Linked DNA regions of Homo sapiens: all the other regions are linked to region 1. Evidence: promoter capture Hi-C in 16 types of primary human blood cells and fetal thymus (Javierre and others, 2016). All regions are on one chromosome and are shown on one strand. The core of a region is centred on a gene start or on the middle of the fragment in contact, and the rest is flanking DNA. Distances in the headings are between cores, read along the strand shown. Region 1 holds the start of DIAPH2 (diaphanous related formin 2). Region 2 overlaps LOC107985714 (a long non-coding RNA gene). Region 3 overlaps DIAPH2 (diaphanous related formin 2).

Region 1 (3,586 bases), core at 599-3,098:
GTAAGGCTCAAAAGTTATGTTTGAGCAAAAAAAGAAAATTCATGTTAATATTAACAAACTCTTGGATTCAAATCTTGTTCTACCGTATCAAGCTATGTTCAACACGGAACAGTGAAGTTAGCTAGGAACCGGAACAGTGAAGTTAGCTAGGAACTGAAAATGATACGATCTCATAACTATCTAGTTACCTTGTCAAAGCAAGTAAAACATAAAAGATGAATCAGGACAAATGGCTAAAGGGAAGAGAAGAATATAATCAAGGTGTTACTACTAACAGAGATAAGTGTTTTTTTTTTTCTCGAAAGCATACTTCTTAAAAGTGGCAGATTCTTGCTAGACGTACCAAACCATTTGTGGAAACTATCAGTTAACTTTTTACTTAAATTTTTAATCACTGATTAAACCACAGTTTTGTACTGGATCCAAACCAAATGGCCAGATGCCATAAGAAACGGCTTTATTTATATGTCACCCTCTCCTTGTCTATTATAATCAAGTTGGTAGTTAAAGCTGAAATCTATACATTCAACATGTGGCTTGTGCTTCGGATCTGGACTAAGAATACAGCTCTAAGGAGTATCTGCTGAATTTGTACAGGAAAACCCTTTCCCCTCACACCACCCAAATTAGAAAGTTTACAAAAAGCGGAACCCTTCTGATGAGCTGAGGAAACTCCAGTATTTCCCAATGCAATACCAGGCCTCATCGATTTCATTCCTCTGCACATTCAGTGGCAGGAAATGGACTGCTACCATCGGTTCACACTATCAGCACGGTGAGATTTGCACAGTTTGTGCCTACTGCTTTTGAGCGTTCTTAATCAACTAAGTGGAAGTACTGTATGACTATGCCTATTACACACACTCGACAGTTGGTGGTACCTCACCCAGCCTCAAACTCCCACGCGCCCCCACCCTTCCAAAGAAACATTTCTTGGGAGAGCACATGGAGAGAGGCAAGGAGGAGGAAAAAGGCACGTAGGCGCCTCTTCCTGAGATTTCTGGTAAAGTAGAAAGACTGGGAGCATAAATAGTGTTCTTCTTGATTTGCGAAGCTGTAGGTGGGCTCCCAAGGACTTGGAATAAAAAGGAGGGAGGTTCCCCTGCCCCGGACCCTACGCGTTAGGAGGCAAAACAGCAACTAACAAGAAGTGGGAGGAGAATGGAATCGCGCAAAGGTTTGCGCCCACAAGTTAGACAAACAACAGCCCTACCCAGTACTCGGGGTGTCCCCAAGTTGGGGCTGGGCCTTTCTCCTTCCCGCACCGCCTCCCGGGCTGACAAGAGTGAGAAAGGGGTTAAGTAGAGAAGGGGGTGCTCTTCCGCCCCCACGCCGTCTCCGCGCCTCGGCGTGGCCACTCCTTTAGCGGCTCCCCGAGTTGCACAGCGAGGTCGCGGTCATCCTTGGGAGGGGGCCCCGGGTGCCCCCGTGTTCAATGGCAGGAGGATCCCGGGGCTCTCCCTGTCCCTAAGGCCGGCGGGGGCTGCGGGAGCACTCACCAATTTGGGTTTGTTTTTCGTTTCCTCTTCATTGGCGGCCCGGTTCCCCGCGCTCCGCTTGTTGCTCCGGCCCCCACCGGGTTCCTCGCTGCCGCCTCCCGCTCCCGACGCCGCCGCCCCGGGCTGCTCCATCTTTCTCCGGCCCTGTCACCTGTGCCCTGTAACCCCACCTCTCCTCAACTGAGAAAGCACCTCGGGGCGCTCACACTGCCCCGCGCTGACTCGGCGGCACCTCTTCCTGAGGGAGAGAGTGTCTGCCCGGGAAGCTGCCGATTTCAGGCCCCCGGGACTCCAGGCTCCCAGGCACCCCCGACGCAACCACGCCGTTGCCACTACTCGGCGCTGGGGCAAGCCCTGCCCCTGAGCAGTTGCAATTACCACGGTCGCCGCCGCCCTCAGGGCGGTGTTTAGGGTGGAGGGAAAAGTAGGTGCCTATCTCTTTAAGAGGGCCTCAACACACGTGATTCTTCAAAGTGCCCGCATCGGCCGCCCGGGCGCGCAAAGCTGCTTCCTACTCCCGCAGCCGAGCCGGCCCCAGCTACTGAGCATGCCCGGCGCGGTGACTGGAGCCTAACAGAGCACTTTCAGCTGCGGTTAGGCACTGATTTCACTTCCTAGTGGCCCAGCGAGAACAGGGAGGGAACTAGTCAAGAGAAAGGAAGGGTAGCCCATTTTAGAGATGGGGAAACTGAGGCCCGGGAAGATCCGCCTGTAAGTTTCACTGGCGGGTCAACCTGAGTATCAGCTTTCACTTCTGTGGGCCACAGCACCTTCCCTCCCTGAGGCCTCTCCGGGGGTGTGGTCCTGCTACAGTCTGTGGAAAGACTTGATTGGCAAGGGAACTGGCATCCTATAGGAAAACCACCGGGAGTGCTGATTAATTGCCTCGACAGACTGTGTGTGGGTCAGAGTGGAAAGAGTGAGTGCTTTCTGTTGTCGTGATTACGTTGTGACCGAAGAAATACAGTTGTTCCTTTATTCCCTTGCTGCAGGGTTGTTGAAGCAGCAGGCGCCCACCGCTTAATCCCTAGGGGATTGTTAGGTTCTATAACCAAAACACTTACATACAGCTAGCAATTGAATTGAGTGCTATTTTCAGGTTCCCGAACTAGTTTAGAGTTGTTGTGGGGAGTGAATAAGATCATGTGTGTCAAAGCTTTGTTGTAAATGAAAATCCCTAGACAAATGCTAGGTGTTTTTGTGCAGCAGCAGGGCACTGTTGGGACGATAGTCTTAAGTCCTTGCGTCATACCTAGCATTTTGTCCTCAGGACAAAATATAGTACCCACACTGTATTTCTTCCATCCTCTTTAAATGATGCCCTTTAAAAGTAAAGGTACACACTGAGAACATTAGACGGGGTGGGTAGGATTTGAATGAACCACCATCATAGAATAGGAGCACATATGCTAGGAAAGCTACCTATAAAGTAAATTTAAATATGAAATCTATAAACATGCCATACACCTATTACTGAAGATATCTCCAGACTATGACTCCTTTTGACCTTCTCCCCTTCGGCCTAAATTTAATATGCTGAATGGAATTTGTATCTGAACATATTTATTGAGAGTGCATTAGGATGCATTTGACCATGCTATAGGTGCAAGGAGACAGCTAACTTGGGCAGTAGAATGAAAAGAACACCAGATATCTGAAAACAGCTTTAATTCTAGCTTTGTCATTGTCATTAACTTTCTTTTTTTTTTAATTCTGAGACAGAGTTTCCCTCTTGTTGCCCAGGCTGGAGTGCAAAGGTGCAATCTCAGCTCACCGCAATCTCCACCTCCCGGGTTCAAGCGATTCTCCTGCCTCAGCCTCCCAAGTAGCTGGGATTACAGGGACCCACCACCACGCCCAGCTAATTCTGCATTTTTAGTAGAGATGGGGTTTCTCCGTGTTGGTCAGGCTGCTCTCAAACTCCTGAGCTTAGGTGATCCGCCTGCCTTGGCCTCCCAAAGAGCTGGGATTACAGGCGTGAGCCACCGTGCCCGGCTGACTTTCTTTTTAATCATGGAGGTGTGACTTCTCTACTCCTAAGGTGGCAAGCTACCAAAGGACAGCAGAGAAGAGGGAATACATGCTCC
Region 2 (3,586 bases), core at 349-2,848, 230 kb after region 1:
CCTCGGCCTGGGATTACAGGCATGAGCCACTGCGCCCGGCCCGACTTATTATATTTTTTTTTACATAATTACCGAGAATAATTCCTACATATGAACAAGAATATAATCCTGTGATATAAACTATTGATAAGTGTTAGAGGAATTCAAAGTTGTGGAAAGTTAAGTATAAACTGAGACTAGTCAGAAGTCTTTATTTTTTGAGACAGAGTCTCACTTTCGCCCAGGCTGGAGTGCAGTGATGTGATCTCAGCTCACTGCAGCCTCTGTCTCCCGGGTTCAAGCGATTCTCCTGCCTCACCCTCCTGAGTAGCTGGGATTACAAGCGCCTGCCACCACGCCCAGCTAATTTTTATATATACGTATTTCTAGTAGAGATGAGGTTTCACCATGTTGGCCAGGCTGGTCTTGAACTCCTGACCTCAAGTGATCCACCCACCTCGGCCTCCCAAAGTGCTGGGATTACGTGTGTGAGCCACCGTGCCCAGCCAGAAGTCTTGATAAAGTACATGACAAGTGAGCTGAGGTATAAAGGAACTGGGGGATTTGAGGATTTGTTGAGGAGGCACTGTGAGAATATTTAAAGTAAGGAGACCTCATGTGTGAAGGTACAGGGTTGCGTATGAGAAGCTTAGGTGATAGTAGTCGATTAACCTGGCTGTGGAGGATGGTGGAGTGTGGAGGACCTAATATGATAGAAACTGTTACATAGATATAGGATGAACATCTCTAAGACACATTCCCTATAAACCCGCAGTATAAATGTATAGCACAAAGATTTTTATCTTGTTCTGACTTCTTATTGGATGAATATCTTACTGTTAACATATAACTACCATCCAATTAAGATTATTGCTCAACTCATGTAGTTAGTTAGTAGTCCAGATTTACCCAACATTAAGATGTAGCAAGTAATATGAACTATATTGGAACTTAAAAAATATTTATATGTTTTGTTGACTTCAAGGAGTGTGGCCTTAAGCAAGCTCTCTAATGTCCAGTTATCTGGCATTTTTGACAAGAAAACAATCTTTAACATGCACAGCCGTTATCATCACTGTCTTGTAATACACTAGAAGACAGTGACAGCTATCCAGTGCATCTTAGATTTATAACTCCTCAGAGAATAAATGCATTGAACATTCTATACATTATTTCTACAGTATGTCTAAAGTTACTGCTAAATACTTAATGATGGAAAGATAATCAACATGGATTTACATTTTATTGTGACAATTTTCCACATCAATCTTGGGAAATTTCCACTTAACATATATTTGGCCTACGAATGGCTTAGAAGATTACAAGAAAGAGGAGTGAGAGAGGATAAATCACTTGGCTAATAAAAATTGAGGCAAAGATAACCCATTGATAATAGTTGATGTCTTTTTAAATTCCTGAATGCAGTTTTCTGAATTTATTGTGAACTTGACTCAAATGTATGTCAATTTTTAACAGCATTAATTACTTGGAATTCTCCACATTGCCTGTTTCATTTGTTTGTTTGTTTTGAGATGGAGTCTTGCTTTGTTGCCCAGACTGGAGTGCGATGGTGCAATCTTGGCTCACTGCAACCTCCGCCTCCCGGGTTCAAGTGATTCTCCTGTCTCAGCCTCCTGAGTAGCTGGGATTACAGGCATGCACCACCACACCTGATTAACTTTTGTATTTTTAGTAAAGACGGGGTTTCACCATGTTGGCCAGTCTGGTCTTGAACTCTCGACCTCTGGTGATCTGCCTGCCTCTGCCTCCCAAAGTACTGGGATTACAGGCGTGAGCCACTGGGCCCAGTCCATATTGTCTTTTTTGATTTTCCACTCAGAGTTTCTATTTTGTTTTGAACGTGCTTTTTTTTTTTTTTTTTTTTGAGACAGAGTCTCACTCTGTTGCTCAGGCTGGAGTGCAGTAGCAAGCTCATAACTCAATGTGACCTTGAAGTGGGCTCAAGTGATCCTCCCGGTTCAGCTTCCAGAGTAGCTGGGACCACAGACTCGTGCCACCATGCCCAGCTAATTTTTGTATTGTTATTCTTTGTAGAGATGAAGTCTCCATGTGTTGTGCAAGCTGGTCTTGAACTCCTGGCCTCAAGCGATCCTCCCGCTTTGGTTTCCCAAAGTGCTGGGATTACAGGTGTGAGACACAATGCCCAGCCTGAGCATGCACTTTTTAACCTTTCCGCTCAGCTCCTGATTTATTAGCATGTGTTGAAATTCAGTTTTATGCCATCTAAAGTTGCTACTTTGAAGTTACTCTTTGGGAATCACTGTAATGAGCCCTTTGCACAATATGGAATATATCTTCTTGTTTGTGTACAGACTGTGCTATCATGTATGGCACTACCCATCCCATTTCTTCATATATTCCTCTGCTTAGGAGGTTACTGCCTAGCTATACCCCAGTGTATTTCCTTACTCTCAGTCTATGAGATAGAGATAGAAATCCCTTAGATCCTTCCACCCTTTATTTGATTCCTTTAACTCTTGGTAGCTCCAATTCTGTCTCTGGCAGCTGTAGGGGAAACCTCTTGTTTAACCTTCCCTGACAGGCCCTGGGATAATTCTGGGAAGCTTTACTAACTTTCCCTTCTACCCCCCTAGTGTTTTCTTTCCTTTGCAGATGTTTTTCTGTGCTTTTCATAACCATAAATTTATTTCAGATGAACCACTGTAGTTTACAGTTGTTGCAGTTTTTCTCATGCTAAGGTTCCAAACAAATTTTAACAGCTGCTAAGGAGGCTGGCAAAAAGCCTTGATTGCTAATTCTGTGTTAAACTACTTTTCACAATGGGACATTCTATAATATTTGGTATAGTCTCTAAAGCAAATGATTTCTATCTTATATTATTACTGTTTGTATCATACTCATTCGTAGTTTAAAAAAGATTCCAAGTCCATGCTTTCCAAAATGGGCTTGATTTTATTTAAAACTTTATAGAAAAGTTAGGGGTTCCCAATGTAATAGGGTTGTTATGATGGAGAAACAGGTAAGAGTGGTGTCAGTAAAGTCAAGTGAGTTAACACACAAATATAGTAAACTGTACCTTCTGGAAACATTACTCTATAAAGGTGAACATTTGTTCTCTTGGCTATAATTTGTAAATAGGTGGAAGGGAAGCTGCTTGTTAAAATTGGAGCCGAGAGATTCGCATGTCCTTAGTGTGTTTCCAAGTATGCTGGGGTCAGGGAAGCTGGTTGGCAGTCTGGTGTGAAGTGAAGATGTGCTCAGAATCTCACAAATAAATCCATACTGCAGTAAATCCCCTGCCAGATAATAAAGCGCGCATCGTATGTGTAACAGGGAGATGGCGTATTAATGAGGAAGTCATTGAAAACAGAATTTGATCTGTAACTGCTGAAAGTTGCTTCAAAAGCCACATCTGATCTGCTAGTACCTCCAAATTATTTCACAACTAGTTATGAAACAATTTTTTTAAAACAATCTAACAGAAATACTGTGCTGTGCTGTATTTTCATCTGGTTTTTTTTGTTTGTTTGTTTGTTTTTTTTTTTGAGACAGGGTCTCGCTCTGTCACCCAGGCTGGAGTGCAATAGCACGATCTCGGCTCACTGCAACCTCCGCCTCCTGGGTT
Region 3 (3,586 bases), core at 555-3,054, 160 kb before region 1:
CGCATGACAGAAAGTTTACAGTGCATTGGGAAATTATGAATAACAATCAGGCTAGAGTGCTGGGTGTTCTGGTTAGTGGGGAATGGGTAGCAGAACAAAAGGAAATGATAGGTAGTGCTGGTAGAAAGGTAGGTTTTGGAACCAAGCTTCTAAGAACCCTGGGGATCTTGCCATGCTGGATGACTGCTAGACAAAAAGGAACACATGATTAGATTTATTTTTAGAATGACAACTCTGGATGCACTTTCAAGGCATAAGGAGTGCAATCTGAGAGGCTCTTATAAAAGTCGTGGCCTAAAAATATGGAAGTGGGAAGGGAATGGAGAGGAGAAGGCAATTATTTCAGAAGATATTTCATTACTTAAGAGGTTGAAATGTGAACAAATTGAACACAGTGAGCCAGGTTCCTTTGATTTCTGAGTTCTTTCTCTATTTTCCCAATTCTAAATTTCTCAATTCCCAAGAAACACTCACATGATGGGCTTGGCATTACTTTATTTAATAAGAGGATAACATAAGCATGAAAGTGAAGAGGACTCTATAAACGTTTAGAATATATGTTGAAAAGGAACAAAAAACACATTACTAATCAATAGAGGGGAGGGAGAATATTTTTCAATCCAGAGAATTCATGGGCAGTTCACATTCAAAATGCAAGGCAATTGGTTCTGATTAGTTGAGTCTTCAACAGTGTGACTTAAATGGTAGAGATTTAAAGAAGATAATGGCAATGAACATTTAATAAGAGAAATAGCATCAACAGAACTATCATTCATGATATGTGATAATCTTCCATTAGATATCCAAAACTAGAAGAGAAGGGAAACTGATTAACATCTCAAAATGGGCCGGGCACGGTGGCTCACGCCTGTAATCCCAGCACTTTGGGAGGCCGAGGCGGGCAGATCACAAGGTCAGGAGATCGAGACCATCCTGGCTAACACAGCGAAACCCCGTCTCTACTAAAAATACAAAAAAAAAAATTAGCTGGGCATGGTGGTGGGCGTCTGTAGTCCCAGCTACTCAGGAGGCTGAGGCAGGAGAATGGCGTGAACCCAGGAGGCAGAGCTTGCAGTGAGCCGAGATCACGCCACTGCACCCCAGCCTGGGCGACAGAGCCAGACTCCGTCTCAAAAATAATAATAAAAAAAAATCCCAAAATGAACAAACAACACAGGAAAAGGCTACTTCAAGAGAGAAAGAAATGTAAGAGGGCCAAGCTTATTGCAGAACATGGACCCTGGAATGAAGGTGGGCCTCATTTCCTCTTGCAGAATATAAAGAGGTCAAATAAGATCAGTGATTCCCAGTGGAGAATGTAAGCTCCCCTACCCCAGGTTATGGGCTGATCAGGATCATATTGAATGCATTTACTCTCCAAAACTACAGAAGACAGCTCCTCTCACCTGGATTTTCCAATAATCCCTTACTAGGGAAGTATGCACCACTTGATAAGCCAATAGCACTATTCACAGTGTGCCATATCATCAGGGATACAGGGATGGGAAATAAATCGAGACTCTAGATCTGCACTGTCCAATATGGAAGTCATTAGTCACATGTGGCAACCAATCACTTGAAATGTGGCTAGTTGGAATTAAAATGTGCTATAAATGTAAAATACACATCATATTATGGAGAGTTAATAAAAAGATATATCTCATTAATTTTATATTGATCACACATTAAAATGATAATGTACTAAATATATTGGATTACATAAAATAAATTATTAAAATGAATTTCACCTGTTTCTTTTTACTTTTTAAATGTGGCTTCTAGAAAATTTTAAATTACATATGTGGTTTGCATTATATTTCTTCTAGACAGCTCTGCTCTAGATGAAATTTTTACATTCCTTCTGGTGTAATAATTCTATGCTATCAAGACTTCACTGTTAAAAGTAAAGTATAACTAGTTCTTGCATCTTTGTAGGAAATAATACAAAAATTGAAATTCCAAACATAAAAGACTGCCATTAAAAACCACCAAATACAAAATAACATTATAAGCACCAACATTAATTTTAAGAACATGAAATTTAAGTTTATTACTTAAAAGCATTCACATCTGACAGAAAGGGGAAAAAGTTCATGCCCGAGGTAAAATGTTCTTTAGCTTTAATTAAACTCTTAAATTAATGTTGAATATAATTTAACAAAAATTAGGTATTTAATTGTTTCAGGGATTTAATTGTTTTAGAAGTCACTTATTAGCATAGGAAAAAATTAAGTGTCTGTAAATTAAAAATGACAATGTACCATTTTTCTAACAAGTAATTAAGCCATCGTTAGCAATTTAACATAATCAGAGAGATTCTCTATAATATTTTATTTCCAGAATACTGGCAGGACATTTTAGTCATAGGAGGCAAGACCATTAAGCTTTATTATACATTATGACTGAAAAATGCATGCTTTAGAAACAGAATACTGGCAAAAAGAAACATTTAAGCGCAATGGGGGGAATGGTATAGGCATTTAGGGGAGTGACACTTTCAAAATTTTCTGACCATGAATAAAAGCTTCAGTTTTGGAGTCAGACAGATTTGGTTTCAATCTAGCCCATCTGACTCCAAATCTCACGTTCTTAAGCACTTACATGTTTTTATTTACATTGTTTGGCCCTGCTAACATTTTTTTCTCATAAATCCCTTCCTTACAGGTTATCCTGTAAAATCTGACACTATATATGATATAGATGTATTGTGGAATATAGGGTTTTTTCTCTCTAATTAACAAATGAGAATTACATGCAGCAATGAAGATTCAAATATACATCTAAAAATTTGATGATAAACATTAGAAGCCAAATTTTCTGGCAGGAGAATCACCTACTCTGATAGCATATTTAAATAATGACTTAGGGAAATTCATTATAATTCTGCATAGACCTAGCTCCTATACTAGAAACATGCCTCTAGGCTCATTTGTACAAGAATTTCTTATTCAGCATCTCAGCTGCACAGGTTTCCACACAGAAATGAGCAGGTAAAAATGGTTAGAGCTTCATAATGAGTCAACATTAACATAATTACTTTCCATTTCATCTATTACGGTACACTGTTTGACTCTCTCATTTCTTTTCATTTCAATCATTCCTTTAGAACACCCACAAGGCCCTGTTAAAGAAATGAGACTTTAGAGGCTGCATTATAGAAACTGAGGTGAACTAAACAGTTTTGTAATTTTCCCTTAGAAATAAAATGATCAAACATTCCACACTAACATAAATGGTGTAATTTTGTACTAATACAGTATTTCTTTACATTTCTTAAAACAATGTATACAATTAGATAATGACATGAAAGTATTTATTTTGGCATCATGAAAATGTTACTATAAAATAACTATTCTGTTTTGTTTTATAACAAACAGAAGTTAATCTTCCTAATGTGTATTGACTATCACAGTTATCTCAGGGGCCACATGCTTACTATAGTTCTGCTGCCACTGCTGAAAACATTGCTGAATATCCCTGTTTTGATTCTGAAGAAATTACCTTCAGGGACAGTTTACCACCCAAATAATAAAACACGTCTCATTGCTTTATATTTTAAGGCCAGAATTTGATCAATTTAGTCACT

The links. The method cuts DNA at HindIII sites, captures the fragments that hold promoters and counts their contacts. A CHiCAGO score of 5 or more calls a contact.
Region 2: a contact is called between a fragment that was not itself captured here and the fragment with the promoter of DIAPH2 in region 1, in 1 of 17 cell types (monocytes). The highest score is 7.0, in monocytes.
Region 3: a contact is called between a fragment that was not itself captured here and the fragment with the promoter of DIAPH2 in region 1, in 1 of 17 cell types (total B cells). The highest score is 5.0, in total B cells.

What each region holds. Positions count from the first base shown.
Region 1 is chrX:96,683,104-96,686,689 of GRCh38, reverse strand. It overlaps DIAPH2 (diaphanous related formin 2), which reads right to left and starts at 1,848. Exons shown (of 27, transcript NM_006729.5): 1 at 1,500-1,848. The coding sequence starts at 1,631. RefSeq lists enhancers at 631-1,344, 1,345-2,060. The HindIII fragment of the contact is 2,760 bases long and covers 1-2,657 here.
Region 2 is chrX:96,449,076-96,452,661 of GRCh38, reverse strand. The region is part of intron 1 of LOC107985714 (a long non-coding RNA gene); the gene reads left to right. Among named protein-coding and RNA genes, the nearest start is that of DIAPH2, 230 kb to the left of the region's middle. The HindIII fragment of the contact is 1,937 bases long and covers 630-2,566 here.
Region 3 is chrX:96,838,173-96,841,758 of GRCh38, reverse strand. All of the region lies in intron 4 of DIAPH2 (diaphanous related formin 2), which reads right to left. Among named protein-coding and RNA genes, the nearest start is that of RPA4, 44 kb to the left of the region's middle. The HindIII fragment of the contact is 1,164 bases long and covers 1,223-2,386 here.